Linked DNA regions of Homo sapiens: region 1 is linked to region 2. The links are contacts of gene promoters, found by promoter capture Hi-C in blood cells and fetal thymus (Javierre and others, 2016). All regions are on one chromosome and are shown on one strand. The core of a region is centred on a gene start or on the middle of the fragment in contact, and the rest is flanking DNA. Distances in the headings are between cores, read along the strand shown. Region 1 has its middle 180 kb from the start of MC4R. Region 2 holds the start of PMAIP1 (phorbol-12-myristate-13-acetate-induced protein 1).

What was found. Contacts are between HindIII fragments. The CHiCAGO score rates a contact against its expected background, and 5 or more counts as called.
Region 1: a contact is called between a fragment that was not itself captured here and the fragment with the promoter of PMAIP1 in region 2, in 8 of 17 cell types (M0 macrophages, megakaryocytes, fetal thymus and 5 more). The highest score is 17.2, in M0 macrophages.

What each region holds. Positions count from the first base shown.
Region 1 is chr18:60,548,069-60,551,954 of GRCh38, forward strand. No RefSeq gene overlaps it. Among named protein-coding and RNA genes, the nearest start is that of MC4R, 180 kb to the left of the region's middle. The HindIII fragment of the contact is 906 bases long and covers 1,443-2,348 here.
Region 2 is chr18:59,898,249-59,901,788 of GRCh38, forward strand. It overlaps PMAIP1 (phorbol-12-myristate-13-acetate-induced protein 1), which reads left to right and starts at 1,748. Exons shown (of 2, transcript NM_021127.3): 1 at 1,748-1,987. The coding sequence starts at 1,930. RefSeq lists an enhancer at 837-1,588 and silencers at 1,345-1,754, 1,905-2,114. The HindIII fragment of the contact is 10,069 bases long and covers 1-2,836 here.

The sequences.
Region 1 (3,886 bases), core at 646-3,145, 650 kb after region 2:
CACCACGCCCAGCTAATTTTTGTATTTTCAGTAGAGACGGGGTTTCACCATGTTGGCCAGGATAGTCTTGATCTCCTGACCTCGTGATCCGCCGGCCTCGGTCTCCCAAGGGAAGGGATTTTACCTAAGCCTGAGATAAAGAAAAACTGGTCTGGGTTCTGGGGCTTTTGGACTTAGCCTACATGAGTGTAGCTCTCAGGTGTCTGGCAAGAGGTTGACACATCCTCACAAATAACTGTAGAGGATGATAGAACATGCTCTGTGGGAGAAATAAAAGAGAAATGATTGATTTCAGTGGAGCAAGAGAGAAGCTGTAGTTTATAGGTACCAGATGACTGGGAGCGATTGGGAATTTGTGCTGAATATTAATAGTTTGGTAGAATTTTGACTTGAGAAGGAACAGAGTTAAGAACACTCATCTCATTCAAAGGAGGACACTAGATTTCAAATATCTGCATCAAAAAATGAGTATTATGAACAAATTGAGGCCAATACATGCCATCCCCAGAATGGAAAAATGTATATCACCAAACTCTTTATAAATCTCGCCTACTGATTGTGTTAATAATTTGTTTTTTATACAGTTTTTATTATTTTCTAGTTGACAAATAAAAATTATATATATTATTTACAACATGTTTAAAAATATAAATACATTGTGAAATGGCTAAATCAAGCTAATTAACATATGCGTTACTGCACATGCCTATCATTTTTCACCTTAAAAAGGCATAGAAGCAGATAATGGAATGGTGGTTATCAGTGGCTTCAAAAAGAGAGGGGAGTGCCGGGCGCAGGCCTCACGCCTGTAATCTGAGCACTTCGGGAGGCCGAGGCAGGCAGATCAAGAGGTCAAGAGATCAAGACTATCCTGGCCAACATGGTGAAACCCATCTCTACTAAAAATACAAACATTAGCTGGGCGTGGTGACATGCTCCTGTAATCCCAGCTACTCGGGAGGCTGAGGCAGGAGAATCGCTTGAACCTGGGAGGCGGAGGTTGCAGTGAGCCGAGATCGCGCCACTGCACTTCAGCCTGGGAGACAGAGTGAGACTGTCTCAAAAAAAAAAAAAAAAAAAAAAAGAGGGGAGATTTGAATGTGTTGATCAAAGGGTACAAAATTTCAGACGGGAGGAATAAATTCAAAAGTCCTGTTGTACAACATGGTGACTGTAGCAATAATAACATATTTCATTCTTAAAAATTTCTAAGGAAGTGGATTTCAGGTTTTCTCATGACAAAATAATTTTATTATTTCACTATCCTGTTAAAAAAAATCCCTTTAAAAGTGATAATCTGATTTTCCTAAAATACACTGTAAGAGGAAAAAACAGTGTTTTGAATATCAAATTGTCAAAAAACACTTGATTTTTCTAGTCTAGTAAACAAAGTGAAAGCAACTGATTCTACTGAGTTAATTTCTTGAATTTCATCATCTGTAAGCTTCTTACACAGGATTGTAAATACAATAGCGCCCTCTATGGCTCATTCTCTGTGCAGAATTCCAGCATTTGAAACGAAGAAGGCAAAATTGTTCTTAGATTTATGACTGTTCTCAAAATAAAAAAGTAGTTATATAATCTTTTAATCTAAATTATGTAAATCTGAATATGTAATACTTTTAAAATAAATATATTTTCTGGTCTCCTAAGAAAATGAATGTCATAAATAGGGTCCTGGAAAAATTTTAAGGTGTATACATTACATTTAAATATTATTTAGATATTTCCAAAACTGCATTTGAATTACAAAAACAATTGGAGTTCTCTTCTTTAAAAATGTAATCTCTAAAGTTTGTCATGTGCTTAGAACTAATGGAACTAGATTTTCAGAAAGGTTCCTCTGATATTAAAATCTTTCTCTCTGAAACCAAGTCACTCTCCAGTTGCCAGCTGCTATTAGTACTCATTACTTAATATCTTAATCTATTTAGAAATACCATTCTTTTCTGGATGATTTCTCCTAGTAAAAGTGACATAGCTGTTTCATTTGACAGACTCCATTTTTTTAACAACAAATGTACTTCAAATATTTTGATTTTAAAGGATTTTGATGTGTGATTAAGAGACATGTTAAGCAAAACCAATTCAGTTAGTTCCGAACTTGGTGAATTTTCATTGTGGCCGAATCTATATGTATCAACAGTTTCCATTAGATGTGAGACTTTTTTCTCAGCTTTAGAGACATTGTTTTCATAGCAAAACCTTCAATTCTTACAGAAGCAGTTCAGAGGCGTAAATGAATTTAGGAAAACAAAAAGAGATAATGGATTCACTCCAGATTATTATTATTAAGTGCTTAATATATATCACTGCTTCTCTGGGAACTGGAGCCACAGAAGTGAATAAGCTTAGAACATCATAGCTCTCATGGGGAGGTGAGAGGGGGGTGTCCAGACAATCAACAGATCAAGAATGAAATTGATTTTGTACTTTCCAATACTTTTGAGTGTCCTGAGGAGTTCAAACATAGTGGCATGACAGAGAATGATGGGGTTAGGATAGTTGGGAGTAGGCACTTTAGATTGGATGCTGTTAGAAGACAATTCTGAGATGAGGAGATAGAAATACTCAGTGTTACATCAGGACTATTAGTGTGGAATTATTTCAGTATAATTTTTGTTATTCTCTGCTCCACAGGATAAAAGCCAGGAAGCAGTGGACACCGATATGAGGAAAACTTAAGATTATAAATGGTTGTTATTTTTAATATTTTACCATTGGATTTAACATTTAATAATTCTTTGGAGACATATAGATTTTAAAAAGGAAAGAAAAAAACAAATGCCAACATTTACTGCCTTTTTTTTTTTTTTTTTTTTTTGACATGGAGTCTCTCACTCTGTCTCCAAGGCTGGAGTGCAGTGGTGTGATCTCGGCTCACTGTAACCTCCGACTCCCAGGTTCAAGTGATTCTCCTGTGTCAACCTCCAGAGTAGCTGGGACTACAGGTGCATGCCACTATGCCCAGCTAATTTTTGTATTTTTAGTAGACACAGGGTTTCACCATATGGGTCAAGCTGGTCTTGAACTCCTGACCTTGTGATGTGCCCACATTGGCCTCCCAAAGTGCTGGGATTACAGGCGTGAGCCATGGCACCCGGTCTCATTTACTGCTTTTTGAAGAGTTGAACTAATTAAATACTCTGAAAGTGAAAGTATCAGATTTCTCCCATTGGAATCTAATATAACATGACTCTCAAAATTTTTTAAAGTATAAATCTAACCCTGAATACTTATTCTTTTGTCCATGAAAGATTATCAAATATTTTATTTACCTTGTACATATAAATTAATAAAAGTAAAGATACAATATGTGAAACCACATACATATTTAACAAAAGCAAGTGCAGACTATTACTGTGGAGAAAATGGAAGCAATGTGAGCCTATGGTTTGCTTGGTTTCCTGCTTAGAGGTGATCTGAATTGCAGACATAGGAAGAAAGCACTTAAACATTGCTCAGAAACTTCACTAAATAAAAGAGAAGGAAATTAGTGTTTGGGGAAGCTGAGGTAGCTAGAAATCTTGACAAGGAGTCTCACGATAGAGTGAGGTGCTCAGCAGAAAAAAAAAATAAAGAAATCTGCATAAATTCTCTGGGAGTAGTAGGCCATACATACGTAACTTGAAACTGCACCAGGATAGACAAAGAACTCACACAGGGTAGAGAAATATTTGAGGTCCCACCAGCTGAAGTGGAGAATACATAGTGATCATTTAGTATTTAGTTATAGTGTTGATTATATTTAGAACGATGGCTACTCTAAACCTGCCCTACCAAAGCTTTAAAAACAGATCCCAAAGGCATCAAACTAATACACAAGTAGATTAATGATCCAAAAAAACAAAACCAGACATTCCGTAAAGAAAACAAAAATGTAATA
Region 2 (3,540 bases), core at 498-2,997:
AATAAACAACCTCAAATGCCTACTGAGGCCAGATAATGTAAATGGGAAAAGCAAACAGCGGGGAGTGTGGTGAACAGGAGCACCCTAGGTTCCTCTAAAGGGTGTGGCTTCGACCACACTTCAAACCTAGTTTGCACTTTTGGAAAATGGATCCCACGTTGTCAGAGATTCTGGTTTTCCAAGAGATGCTGGAATCTGGGTTTTTCATGCAATCCCTCAATGTTTAAAATGTTGGTAATCAATTCAAATTTTTACAATACATTTTGAAGGCCAATACTGTAAACCAAACTAAGCACTTCTAGGGAGCCCATGCAACGAATTTGCAATCTTTTCATTAAACAGCACAGCTAATATGAAAACACGCTTTTTTTTTCTTTTTCTTTTTTGAGACAGAGTCTTATTCCGTCACCCAGGCTGGAATGCAGTGGCGCGATCTCGGCTCACTGCAACCTCCGCCTCCCAGGTTCAAGCGATTCTCGTGCCTCAGCCGCCCAAGCAACTGGGACGACAGGCGTGCACCACCAAGGCCGGCTAATCTTTTGTATTTCAGTAGAGACGGGGTTTCACCATATTGGCAAGGCTGGTCTCGAACTCCTGGCCTCAAACGAACCACCCGCCTCGGCCTCCCAAAGAGCTGGGATTACAGGCGTGAGCCACCGCGTTCGGCGAAAACACACATTTTCTAAGAAACTGATTGCTGGGAAGGCTACAGTGGGTAAGAGCTCTTGCTCTCTGTGGGCCTGCCTGGTTCGGAATCAGGGCAGTGCTCTCTGCCTAAGTGAACTTGGGCAATTTTCTACAAACCTCAGTTTCTGCACCCGTAAAGTAGCAACGGTTGTTCTGAGGACGGAATGAGAAAATGCATGTCAAAGTCCTTAGCATGAAGCGGCTCTCAGTAACCGTTAACCACTCCTAATTACTCCTCTTCATAATAGTAGAATTACTCATGGCCTCGCCAAACATTATGCAAATAATTTCACGTTCCCAGGTAGCTCAGCCCTCCCACAAAAGATTTGAACGTTTTCCATATGATAACGATCCACTCGTTTTTGCTAAACATCCACAATGGGCGATATCGACCTATCTGGAAGGACACACACAAATCCCTTCCCAACTCAAACACGATGTTCTTTCTGGCTGGCACCAGGGCTTCTGTTTGCAGTGACTTCCTGGGACCCGGAGCTTTCTCACAGGGCCTCTGGCATCTCCTCTGCGGTGATTAAGGTTCTTCTCATTTCCCTTCCCTGTTACTGCCCATACTCTTCAAGTTCGAAAAGTTTCCTTTTCCAATCTCTTTTCTGGGCTTGTTTACCCAAGTCTCTAATTGCCAAGGCCTCTGGTCTCTCCCCACCCACAACGTTCCTCCTGGTTAAACCCTTCCCCTCCCGCCACTCCCAGCTCCCGCCACTCCCAGCTCCCGCCACCACTGCCGCTGACGACGTCCAGCGTTTGCAGATGGTCAAAGCCGACCCCCTTCTCCTCCCACCTCGTTTTGTAAGGAAGTAATTTCGGGGCCGAGCGCTCTGCGCCCCCCGCCGCGGGTCGGCGCCGCCGCGGGTCGGGAGCGTGTCCGGGCAGGTCGCGCTCAGCGGGGTACTTCCCCGCCCGCGTCCCGCGTCCGCTCCCATAACGCCGTCTGCGGGGCGGGGACAGGGGCGGGGACAGGGGCGGGCCGGGCGTCTAGTTTCCCTACGTCACCAGGGAAGTTCTCACTGGACAAAAGCGTGGTCTCTGGCGCGGGGATCTCAGAGTTTCCCGGGCACTCACCGTGTGTAGTTGGCATCTCCGCGCGTCCGGACACCCGATCCCAGCATCCCTGCCTGCAGGACTGTTCGTGTTCAGCTCGCGTCCTGCAGCTGTCCGAGGTGCTCCAGTTGGAGGCTGAGGTTCCCGGGCTCTGTAGCTGAGTGGGCGGCGGCACCGGCGGAGATGCCTGGGAAGAAGGCGCGCAAGAACGCTCAACCGAGCCCCGCGCGGGCTCCAGCAGGTACCGACCCGCTGGGGCCAGCGAAGACCCAGGCCGGGCGGGGTCGGGGCCGGGGTCGAGGTCTCGGCTGGGGCGGGCTCAGCTCGCCGGGGCTCAAGCACAGACTGCACGGGGGTCAAGGTCGGGCCAGGTCTGTGCCCTGGCGCGAGCCTTAGGGGCGCCTCCAGAAAGTTCTTCGGGGTTTTTCCCCAGGACCGGCGGGTACGGCGGGTACGGCGAGGGACCAAGCCGGATTTGCGATTGGGATGCAGCTGCGTTTCACCAGGGGCAAAAAGCTCCTTTCCTCCTCTCTTTCCTCCTCGCCACTTGCCCTTCCCCGGGGCCACGAGGAACAAGTGCAAGTGTAGGCGGCTGTCTCTAGGAGAAAGTCATTGTCGCGGCAGAAGGGGCAGGAGAGAGCCCCGGGGACCGCCTGGACTCCCAGCGCTTCCAGAGACGGCCCCACAAGGGCCCCTGTGTTCAGGAGCCTAGAAAATCTTGTAACATTTAAATAATCGATATTGTGGGAGGTGGGGATAGGAGAATAGGAGTTAGTCCGCTCCTTTTTTTCATTCATTCATTCGCACTCCCCACCCCGATACATACAGCTCCATCGTAAGTTTTCAGGCCAGCGCCCCGGCCCCATGCTTTTTCTAAATCTAAACAGAGAACCCAGTCACTGCCCAGAGCCCGAAGTCTGTGTGGGCCATACTGCTGTTGCATCAGACGATTATACGCCCCCCCCACCTTTTAAGTTACTTTCATTTTATAGAGCTCCTGGGGCGTGCGAAGGAAGTGGTGCATTGCAAATGTGACCATGCCTAAGTTGGTAACAGGCTGCTGTCTCTGGCGCTTGTGTGGGATGGAAAAAGCTTTGTCTACCTTTTGTGATGTCTTAGGATTCTGACCTTGTTTCTTTCTGAAGGATCTTACTTATGCATAGCACTTTCTGGTCCGACTTAATTCCCAAGAACAGGAAGCAGCACAAAGTCCCTCTTAAACTTGATTTGATTGATACTAATACATTTATAGGTGTGTAATGCAATTTTTAAAAAATTAAGGAAATGACCGGGAAGTATTTTCTGCCTTGTTTTCTACATTTTTGGTGAAAGGGATAACTTTTCCACTTAGAATTCAGGGCTTCCAGTGTCGGACGCTGAATGGTATTTGGTTTTTCTTTTAGAACTGTATATTAATATATCTCAATCTCTGTAGACAACATGTCTATGTAAATACTTCCCAACATATTTGATCTTGTAGCCCATAAAGAATAACACCTTAAGGGATTTATTAGGTCTCTTGGTGTAGGAGTTAGGAAAGATTTCACTCACTTCTTGTAGAGAGAAATTGGTTGAAATATAGGTTTAAGATTTTGCTTTACTATATATTGACAGCTTTGATTTATTTTGAGCCTAAATACGGTATTTTCAGGGTCGATTTATAAAATAGACCAGATTTTAATTTGTAATCATGATTTTTTAATGTTTGTAATCATGAAGTGTACCCGAAAGACCTCAAGCTGCTCTTTGAAATATTCAAGAAAATTGAAATTATAGTCAGTATAGATACGATAT